Linked DNA regions of Homo sapiens: regions 2 and 3 are each linked to region 1. The links are contacts of gene promoters, found by promoter capture Hi-C in human tissues and cell types (Jung and others, 2019). All regions are on one chromosome and are shown on one strand. The core of a region is centred on a gene start or on the middle of the fragment in contact, and the rest is flanking DNA. Distances in the headings are between cores, read along the strand shown.

Region 1 (3,465 bases), core at 355-2,854:
CCTGTAATCCCAACGCTTTGGGAGGCTGAGGTGGGAGTTAGAAAGCAGCCTGGGCAACACTGCAAGACCTCCTCTCTAAAAAAAAAAAAAAAAAAAAGTTAGCCAGGTGTGGTGGTGCCCACCTGTAGTCCCAGCAACTCAGAAGGCTGAGGTGGGAAGATTGCTTGAGCCCCAGGAGTTCAAGCTTGCCGTGAGCTACGATTGTGCCACTGCACTCCAGCCTGAGCAAGACCTTGTCTCCAAAAAAAGGTCAATTCCACTGACTTTTCTAAGGTGTACACCATCAAGGGGCAGCTCCATCTCCAGGCCATTGGCTCATGAGACATTCTGTAGTCAGAAGGCTAGGGCAGATTGCTTTGAGCAAGCCCCCATGGTGGTTCTCACTCCTACTTCTTTGGGTATATGCCCCTCTGTTTAAAAATAAAGTTAATATGCATTTAAAAAAAAAAAGGAGAAAAAGGTCAGTTCCAGAAACTGTGTGAATAAAGCATTTTACTTGCTTTTTCTATTAATCTATAACATATGTTGATTTTTTAAAAAGAATATAAGAGCTATGCAAATTGGAGCTTCAAGACAACTTCCCATCTCCCTAGGAGGAGATGGCTGCCCTAAACCCCCCTACATAGAAATCATCCCACTGCTTGGGCTTAAACTTGATGTTGGGGAAATGAAAAATCCAAGCTAAGGCCGAAGCCTGGGGCCTGGGCGACCAGCAGAATGAGGACCACTGGTCAGTTTCAGGCTGAGGTGCGTCTTCCAGGGGACAATCTCTAGCTGGCCCTTAAACATTCAGACTTCAAGCTCTATTTACAGCATAAAGGTGTTTCAAAAGACGTGATACAAATAACTGCAAATGCTCTGCGATGTGTTAAGCACTGTTTGAAATTCGTCTAATTTAAGATTTTTTTTTCTGACGTAACGGTTAGATTCACGTTTCTTTTTTTTTAAGTACAGTTCTACTGTATTGTAACTGAGTTAGCTTGCTTTAAGCCGATTTGTTAAGGAAAGGATTCACCTTGGTCAGTAACAAAAAAGGTGGGAAAAAAGCAAGGAGAAAGGAAGCAGCCTGGGGGAAAGAGACCTTAGCCAGGGGGGCGGTTTCGGGACTACGAAGGGTCGGGGCGGACGGACTCGAGGGCCGGCCACGTGGAAGGCCGCTCAGGACTTCTGTAGGAGAGGACACCGCCCCAGGCTGACTGAAAGTAAAGGGCAGCGGACCCAGCGGCGGAGCCACTGGCCTTGCCCCGACCCCGCATGGCCCGAAGGAGGACACCCACCCCCGCAACGACACAAAGACTCCAACTACAGGAGGTGGAGAAAGCGCGTGCGCCACGGAACGCGCGTGCGCGCTGCGGTCAGCGCCGCGGCCTGAGGCGTAGCGGGAGGGGGACCGCGAAAGGGCAGCGCCGAGAGGAACGAGCCGGGAGACGCCGGACGGCCGAGCGGCAGGGCGCTCGCGCGCGCCCACTAGTGGCCGGAGGAGAAGGCTCCCGCGGAGGCCGCGCTGCCCGCCCCCTCCCCTGGGGAGGCTCGCGTTCCCGCTGCTCGCGCCTGCGCCGCCCGCCGGCCTCAGGAACGCGCCCTCTTCGCCGGCGCGCGCCCTCGCAGTCACCGCCACCCACCAGCTCCGGCACCAACAGCAGCGCCGCTGCCACCGCCCACCTTCTGCCGCCGCCACCACAGCCACCTTCTCCTCCTCCGCTGTCCTCTCCCGTCCTCGCCTCTGTCGACTATCAGGTAAGCGCCGCGGCTCCGAAATCTGCCTCGCCGTCCGCCTCTGTGCACCCCTGCGCCGCCGCCCCTCGCCCTCCCTCTCCGCAGACTGGGGCTTCGTGCGCCGGGCATCGGTCGGGGCCACCGCAGGGCCCCTCCCTGCCTCCCCTGCTCGGGGGCTGGGGCCAGGGCGGCCTGGAAAGGGACCTGAGCAAGGGATGCACGCACGCGTGAGTGCGCGCGTGTGTGTGTGCTGGAGGGTCTTCACCACCAGATTCGCGCAGACCCCAGGTGGAGGCTGTGCCGGCAGGGTGGGGCGCGGCGGCGGTGACTTGGGGGAGGGGGCTGCCCTTCACTCTCGACTGCAGCCTTTTGCCGCAATGGGCGTGTGTGTGTGTGTGTGTGTGTGTGTGTGTGTGTGTGTGTGTGGAGGGGTCCGATAACGACCCCCGAAACCGAATCTGAAATCCGCTGTCCCTGCCGCTGTTCGCCATCAGCTCTAAGAAAGACGTGGATCGGGTTCTAGAAAAGATGACTCCCTGCACGCCCCTCCCTGCACCTCCCGAGCAGTGATTCCGACAGGGCCTTCACTGCCCCTGATTTTAGGCGGGGGCCGGCCCCCTCCCCTTTTCCTCCTTCAGAAACCCGTAGGGGACATTTGGGGGCTGGGAGAAATCGAGGAGATGGGGAGGGGTCCACGCGCTGTCACTTTAGTTGCCCTTCCCCCTGCGCACGCCTGGCACAGAGACGCGAGCAGCGCCGTGCCTGAGAACAGTGCGCGGATCCCACTGTGCACGCTCGCAAAGGCAGGGTTCACCTGGCCTGGCGATGTGGACGGACTCGGCGGCCGCTGGTCCCCGTTCGCGGGCACGCACAGCCGCAGCCACGCACGGATGGGCGCGGGGCTGCAGGTGCATCTCGGGGCGGATTTCTTTCTCAGCGCTCGGAGCGCAGGGCGCCCGGCGTGTGCGCTCCCTGCCGGAGGCGCGGGGCTGGCGCGCAGGGCTCGCCCCTCACTGCGGCAGTGGGTGTGGACCCTGGTGGGCGAGGAAGGGGGAGGATAGGCTGTGCCTCCTCCCACTCCCGCCCCCAGCCCCCCTTTTTTTCCCCCTCGGAACGCGAGGTGCCATCTTTTTTCGGCGTGTCACGTCTTTACGGTGCCATGCCAAACCGGGTGGCCGGGCTTCATAGGACAGGGCGGGGCCTGGCATTAAAGGGAGGGGGACAATCAGCGCTGAAATCTTGGCGTTTTGCTGCTGCGGGCGTGAGCACTGGGGGCGTTCGCCCAGCACCTTCTTCGGGGGCTCTTTGCTTTGTCTGTAGAGGTTACGTGATCTGCGCTCCCAGCCCTGGTTTCTGGCTTTTATTCTGAGGGTGTTCAGTCAACCTCCCCCCTACGCCCATGCGCCTCTCTTTCCTTTTTCGCTCCTCATTTCCGAGCCCATTGTTGGATCTCGAGGCTTGCTGGGTTCGATGAACTCGAGTCAACCCCCCGACCCCCGGCACGCATGGAACGGGCGTGACCGCGCGCAGCCTCGTCTCGGAGTCTGCCGGCGCCGGGAAGCTTCTGAAGGGATGGGATTCGAGTCTCCGTGCGCGCTGCGGGCGGCGGCAGAGGGATCTCGCCCCTCCCTACACCCCAAGTGTCCTGAGGGCCACGCCACACCAGGTTGCCCAGCGAGGGACGCTGGCTACCCATCCGGGGATGGGTGGGGAGCCCTGGCGGGGCCTCTCCGGCTTTACGCCCTGTTG
Region 2 (3,465 bases), core at 606-3,105, 190 kb before region 1:
ACCCTGAGTTGCAGTGTGATCAGATGGGGTTGGGGTTAGTAGAGAAGGTTTTGTGGAGGAAGTGCGTCTTGGGATGGGCTCTAGATATGCAGGGAACCGCACTGGCAAAGGCCCAGAGGAACAAGGAGTTTGGGGTGGGAGACAGGCAGGGCCTCTGTGGAGATTGTTCTGATGCTAATTCAGAGGCACCAGGGACTAGGGAAGCTTCTGCCTTTCGTGGCCACAATTCTCAGGCTAGTTGCCCGGGTGTGAGCTATAGTCTGCTCAAGCCGTGCTTGTTACAGGGAACTGCGACCCACTGCGCTGCCTTGAGTGAAGGGGTGTTGCTGATTGTCAAAGATGACAAACAGGCAGCCTCAAGGCTGTGGAATGGGCTTTTGGAGGCTGGAGCTGGATGAGCAGGGAGCCCTTCTCCTGGGCCCCGTCAGCCTACTCACTTTTCATAAGGTCCAACTTAGCGGCCACTGTCTTTTCCCCCTGTTTGGTTTCAGTCTCCATTCCTGACTATGGATTTCTGTGTGTCTCAATGTTCTCAAAAGAGAAAGCATTTCTAATGCCCTTGAATCAGCCTATGGATGGGAGAGTCACTTGCTCACCTCTCATCCATCTCCTGTAGCCTAGAGGGGACAAAGTCGCATGGTACATGACGGGAGGGCTTCCCTCTTCAGTGCCAGCAGAAAGGAGTATGGATCTAGGAAGGCAGTTGGGCAGGGAAGGCCAAATGGCTAGGACTCAGGCACAAGTCCTAAGACCATCCTGCAGACCAGGGCTCCCAGTGTGGATTCAGGGAGAAAAATAAAAGGGCTGTTTCCACAGTGACCCTGCCTGAACTTTAGGCTGTATCTTATTTTTTTAAATTTCTTTTTCTCTTTTCCCCCCTCATTCTTGCTGTCATCTTATAAGCTTTATCTTTGTGGTCTCTTCACTCCAGCCCGACTCACCCACTCACCAGTGCCTACTTCTGCTCATGTCCTCTCCCTGGCCAACTCATTTCCATTGATTCAAATCCTATCCATCCTTCCAAGCTCAGCTCTGCCCCATCTCCTGCCGGGGTACTGCCTTGATCACTCCAGCCCTTCCATCTCCCCTCCTCTCTTCCTCTCATTCTTATGTCTCTTCCTGGTTATTTTCAGCTTCCCTGACCCTTCATGTAAACTGTCTGGTGATAGATGGCCTTTGTAGGGTCGTCTTGTATTGCCACTTATTTCTGGTAATTTTTCATGCCTTGCTTTCCAATTGGTCAACAGGACAAACATCACACACCCCCTCAGGTCTTTCCTGGGCACATAAAGATCCTTGTAGACATGCACAGCCATTTGCCTTTGGGGCAAGAAGGCTTTAACCACCATCAGGTCAAATCTGAGAGATGAGGAAACAGAAGTCTAGAGAAGAGGAGTATTTTGCCCCAAATCACATAGTCAAGGTCAGCGTGGAATTCAGGTCTCTTGGCTCTTTACCCAGGCAAGAACTATGAGAAGCAGCTTTGGCTGTGAAGTTGGTACCATAGTGTTGCAAAGTACACCAGAGCCAAGGTGGCCAGTGGCAGTTGGGGAGGTCTCATGCATCAGAGAGTGAGTGGCTGCCCACCTGGGTGGATGCATCCCCTGCCTCCTTGCAGGGTCCCAGAGCCTCATATTCTGCCAGGAGCCATCTGTTCCTTTGGAAACTGCCATTTCCCCCACTCAGTTTCCTCTTTTAAAATGCAAACTCCTAAGAGATGGGCTCAAGGGCACAGGCTGGCAGGGAACTCTGGCTGGGTCCCCCTTGGAAGGAGAGGGGGAGTGGTGGCAGAGGAGCCTTACAACTTCACCGTGTCCACTGCCAAAGTGCGCATTTCCTGATTGGCAGGTGGACCAAATAAAAGCCAGCCCAGGGATCTGGGGAGAATAAATCTCAATGAAATGTTTTTTATCAGGGTTCTGCTGCTCTACAAGGAAGATGTGCAGGTTAAGCTGGACAAATAGCAGGCTGAGTGCGGCTGGGCTTTTCCCAGTCTCCAGGGAGGACTCAGGATTGAGCTGCAGGGCCTGGTGATCATCCCAGCCTCAAGGCAAGGGCACAGCTGCGATCCTGCTTGATCTCACCCTGCTTTGTCTGCTTCCTGTGGAGAGCTCCCGCCTTGAGAGTGGGAAGGAATGTGTGATCATCCCCATTGTACAGAAGGGAAGAGTGAGACCCACAGTGACTAAGTGAGTACAGAGAGAATGAGGAAGCAGAAAAGGAATTGGATTGGGGTCTGGGCTTCTGGTCCAGGCTCCACCCTAACCTGCTGTGTGATTTTGTCCAAACCTTTTATCTTTTCTGGGTTTCTTCACTCGAGTGTGAACTTTGGACCAGATCAGTGACTTCCAGATCACTTTTCCTAACCACAATGGGCACATGTTAGCCCTTTCCATGGGCCCGGGCCACTTCCAGTACCCCTATAGGGGCTGTAATGCAAACCCTTATTCCTTTTCCAGAAAGATCATCAGAACAGAGAACCCTGAGAATTGCATTGCAGGGATACCCTTGCCTCTGTTCTAATTTATATAACAAATTCCAAAGCCTTTGCACTCAGTGTTTGGGAATGAATGACCTACAGGGCACCTGGGTCACTGTCTTGAGAATCTTTAGCTTTCCTGGGTTCCTCACTGAGGTGCTAAGATGCCAGGATCCTGGGCATCTGAGTGTACCCTGAGGTCTGGTCTCATCCACTGAGGCAGGAGGCAGAGCTGGGCAAGCCTGGGTGTCCAGCCTCCATGCCCCTCACTGATCAGGGGTCACTGTGGCCCCTCACTCTACCTGCCGCACCTTTCCCAGCAGATGGTAGCTGGGAAAGCAAGTCAAATGCCTGTTTCCTCCGGTGGACTTGGGCAGATCATGCTCTGAGTGCTCCCCAGCCCTTTTCCCTGGATCTCTGAGCTGGCTTTCTCCAAATCTCCACCTCCCTTTCTCTGCGTCTCCGGTGAATACTGCCACACAGGGAGCCTGCTTTACCAAGCCTTACTTGAGTCTTGAGATGCTAATAGATCCCCTGGGAATGGCAGGCTGGAGTGGAACCTGGCATGGGGAAGACAGACTGCGCCAGCTCCCACCAGAGCACGGAGCACTGCAGCTCTGGCACCACTGAGACCCCTGATCAAGGCCATTTCTACCTCTAGGTGGACAAGCCAGGCTCAGGGGCACTGCTGGATTGCCCTGTGGGGGCCTCTAGGCAGCACAAAGGGCCTCCCTGCTGAGCTCAGGCTGGGAATTCTTCTTGCCCTAGGCCCAAACCAGCACTGATTTCAGTCTGAATGTGGTGGCTGCAGTGCAGGGCCCACCGTTCTGATGGAACCTAAAGTCAGAGGAAGAAGGAAGAAAATGACCACTGATTAGTACCTGAGGAGGACAGTGACCTCTTCAGGGATCATCTCATTCATTCCTTACCTCCCAACGGCACTGTGCTGCAGGCAGTACTATTCTATTTACAGGCACAGAGACTGC
Region 3 (3,465 bases), core at 1-2,500, 150 kb after region 1:
CATTTTCTCAGGCGCACTTTTTCCGGGTGTTTTGTAATGCTCACTTCTTCCTCCTGCTGGGAAGTTGCTGTAGCCTCATGTGCAGGGTTTGGCAAGCTCTCTCAAAATACCACAGATCTTCATGGCCAGCAGGTGGTGCTCTTATTAAGCCCCTTTTATAAAGTTAACAAGCTTTTCTCCAAGGTTATATATCCTCTACATTTCCAACTAAGGATTAACTGGATTTGATTACTTGAGGTGATAAAACAAAGCCCCCTTCCTGCTGGAATACTAACAGGTTATTATACCCTAGTCTCTCCACCTTCCACAGCCAGGCGTAGAGTTGGCTATAACACAGTCCCTCAATTTCTATCACCCACACACACTTAATGAGAGGGGCTGAGGTACAGTCAAGGTGCGAGGCACAACTCCAGGATGAAAAGCAGCAGTTGGTTGTTATTCTAACAAACTACACAAACTGGTTAGGAAACAGCACTAAAACTACTTAAAAAAATATCTGTCCTATGGGGCCAGAAAACAGCTAAGTATCACATTCAAACAATTTTCTGCCTTTATGTCTGGTATAAATGTAACTATATGGAATCAATGAATCAAAATCATTTTTAACCTTGTTATGAAAAAAAAAAAAGTTGGAAATCCTGCCACTTTAAAACATCTTCTAGAGAAGAGGTTGTAAGGGTGGCCCAGTAGTAAAATCTACCACACAAATGTTTGACCTACACAGTCGTATGCCAAGCTGCTAGCCTTCACTGTTATTTACTGCTATACAATGATGTACAGGGAATCCCAAGACTTCAGGGGGTGTGTTATTTACACGGGATATTATGTGAATGGTGCCCTTTGGAGTTGGCTATCTCTGCACCCATGGGAATCTTCTGATTTCCAAATGGACTGCATTCTGAATGTGGCAGTTGTTTGGGTCAAAGCAAAATTATTCCAACAGGAATAATATTAGACATGGTAATCAGGTCTTCAGGTCAACCAACTGAGGTGTAATTAATCTACAGGCAAATACAGTAGTTAATAGAGCCTACATGTAAAAATATATATATATCTCCACAGTCTCATAAGGAGAATTTAATGACCAACTTTTTCGTCCAAACCCCAGGGCCATAGCTAGAAGCTCTTCGTGTGTGTGTGAGACATAGACAGAAAAACAAATAGGATTAGATGCAGGAAAATAAAAACCATAAAGACCAGAAAAGGGGGAGTGTTCCCTATCTTTCTTTCCATTCCCCCTCATTGCTGCCTGTAGTTGCTCTGAATGATGGTGTGGGAGGTGTAAGGTATGCGGCAGGGCAGCATTCATGTCAGATCTATAGTGTCCTGCAGTCAGCAGGACAGAAAATGTTCAAGGGAAATGGAACCTCTTAGTAGAGATGCTGAATGATGGAACAGGAGCTGAGAGACACACAGTCTGGGTATATCTGAGGGTGGGGGAGGTTATTTGCAACTGTATGTGGTAATGCTGTTGACAAAGAAATGACTGTTCTGTTTAGCAGGTGATATCCAATGAGTGTGCTTAAGTGTCCGGGCTTCCTGTCCTTCTTCAAGTATGAGACTATACAATTCAACACAGTAATTCAGAGAGTAACCCAACAAACATTCCTAAGTCTTCCTAGTGGCGCTGTCTGTAGCCAGAATCCCAAAAAGGGTAAAAATCTGACTCCTCTTAATAATCTGTCTGGAAAGGAACTTGAAATATAGTAAAAGGAAGGACAGGCATCAGATAATCTGGGTCTGAACTGTGAAGGCATTCAAACCCATTAGCCATTTAGTTTTAGATAAGCCACAACCTTACCAAGCCTGTTCCTTGAGCACTAACACTGAAGTAACACCTTACAAAATTTCTGGGCCGGGCATGGTGGCTCATGCCTATAATCCCAGCACTTTAGGAAGCCAAGATGGGTAGATCGCTTGGGCCCAAGAGTTTGAGACCAGCATGGGCAACACGGGGAAACCTCTTCTCTACTAAAAATGCAAAAAATTAGCCAGGCATGGTGGTGTGCACCTGTAGTCCCAGCTACCCACTGAAGTGGGAGAATCACCTGATCCTGGGAGGCCGATGCTGCAATGAGCCAAAAACCACACCACTGCATTCTAGCCTGAGTGACAGAGTGAGACTCTGTCAAAAAAAAAAAAAAAAAAAAAAAAAAAAGCCAGGTGCGGTGGCTCATGCTTGTAATCCCAGCACTTTGGGAGGCCAAGACGGGTGGATCACGAGGTCAGGAGTTCAAGACCCTCCTGGCCAATATGGTGAAACCCCCATCTCTACTAAAAGTACAAAAATTAGCCGGGCGTGGTGGCGCGTGCCTGTAGTCCCAGCTACTCAGGAGGCTGAGGCAGGAGAATTGCTTGAACTTGGGAGGCGGAGGTTGCAGTGACCCGAGATTGCACGACTGCACTCCAGCCTGGGTGACAGAGCAAAACTGTCTCAAAAGTAAAAAAAAAAAAAAAAAAAGAATTTTGAAAGCAGCATATGAGACAAATATGAGAAGAGTACTACAAACTTTAAAATGCTATACAAATAGTAACTGCAGTTACATGGGCTACATAAATCCAATGGCAAGGGAAGGTAAAAGTCAGTGACTCTGGAATCTGAAGCACAGAGGAAAATGTTTTAGTGTTTTCCACTCATTGTGTTCAAGTTTATTTATTGCTCCACCAGCTCCTGACTATCCATGTGTTCCAGGTTTTCTGTTTCCTTTCTCTTACAAGAAATCACATGGCCACAGGAATATTACACCACATCCTTATCACAGCTAGGGGGTTTTGGTAACAAAAGCCAAAAATCCCGGTATCTACTGGATTTAGGTGGCCAGAAATGCAATCATTTGAAGAACAGATGCAGAACAGGGGATTATAGTTATCTAATGTTTGATCAACTGTCAATTAGAAGGATTCTCTCTAGGACAAGGGTTAGCAATGATTGTTTTTATAAATAAACTTTTGTTGCAACACAATCAGGTTCATTTGTTCACATATTGTCTATGGCTGCTTTTGTGCTACAATGACAGGGTTGAGCAGTTGTGACATGAACTGACATCAATTATATGGCCTGCAAAGCCTAAGATATTTACCATATGGCCCTTGAAGAAAAAGTTCAGGCCGGGCGTGGTGGTTTACACCTGTAATCCCAGCACTTTGAGAGGCCAAGATGGGTGGATCACTTGAGCTCAGTTCAAAACCAGCCTGGGCAATATAGCAAGACCCCATCTTTGTAGGGGGCGGGAGGCGGGGAAGCAGGTTGTGGTGGTGCACACTTGTAGTCCCAGATACTTAGGAGGCTGAAGTGGGAGGACTGTTTAGAGCCCAGGAAGTCAAGGTTGCAGTGAGCTGTGATCACTCCACTGAACTCCAGCTTAGGGCACCGAGCAAGACCCTGTATCTAAAAAATAAAAATTAAAAAAAAAAAAAAAACAAAAAAAAAACTTACAGACTACCTGGGAGATATTATGAAGAACA

What was found. Contacts are between HindIII fragments. The study calls those that stand out against the background at their distance.
Region 2: a fragment that was not itself captured here is called in contact with the fragment with the promoter of MAPT in region 1 in 4 of the 25 tissues and cell types used here (dorsolateral prefrontal cortex, heart left ventricle, mesendoderm cells and 1 more).
Region 3: a contact is called between a fragment that was not itself captured here and the fragment with the promoter of MAPT in region 1, in 1 of the 25 tissues and cell types used here (mesendoderm cells).

The regions. Positions count from the first base shown.
Region 1 is chr17:45,892,950-45,896,414 of GRCh38, forward strand. It overlaps MAPT (microtubule associated protein tau), which reads left to right and starts at 1,605. Exons shown (of 13, transcript NM_001377265.1): 1 at 1,605-1,737. MAPT-AS1 (MAPT antisense RNA 1) reads right to left here and starts at 2,564. Exons shown (of 2, transcript NR_024559.1): 1 at 2,531-2,564. It overlaps MAPT-IT1 (MAPT intronic transcript 1), which reads left to right and starts at 2,834. Exons shown (of 1, transcript NR_024560.1): 1 at 2,834-3,465. RefSeq lists enhancers at 1,548-2,433, 2,434-3,319. The HindIII fragment of the contact is 9,010 bases long and covers 1-3,465 here.
Region 2 is chr17:45,706,895-45,710,359 of GRCh38, forward strand. The region is part of intron 3 of LINC02210-CRHR1 (LINC02210-CRHR1 readthrough); the gene reads left to right. Among named protein-coding and RNA genes, the nearest start is that of CRHR1, 76 kb to the right of the region's middle. The HindIII fragment of the contact is 5,336 bases long and covers 1-3,465 here.
Region 3 is chr17:46,044,399-46,047,863 of GRCh38, forward strand. The region is part of intron 7 of KANSL1 (KAT8 regulatory NSL complex subunit 1); the gene reads right to left. Among named protein-coding and RNA genes, the nearest start is that of STH, 47 kb to the left of the region's middle. The HindIII fragment of the contact is 4,503 bases long and covers 1-3,465 here.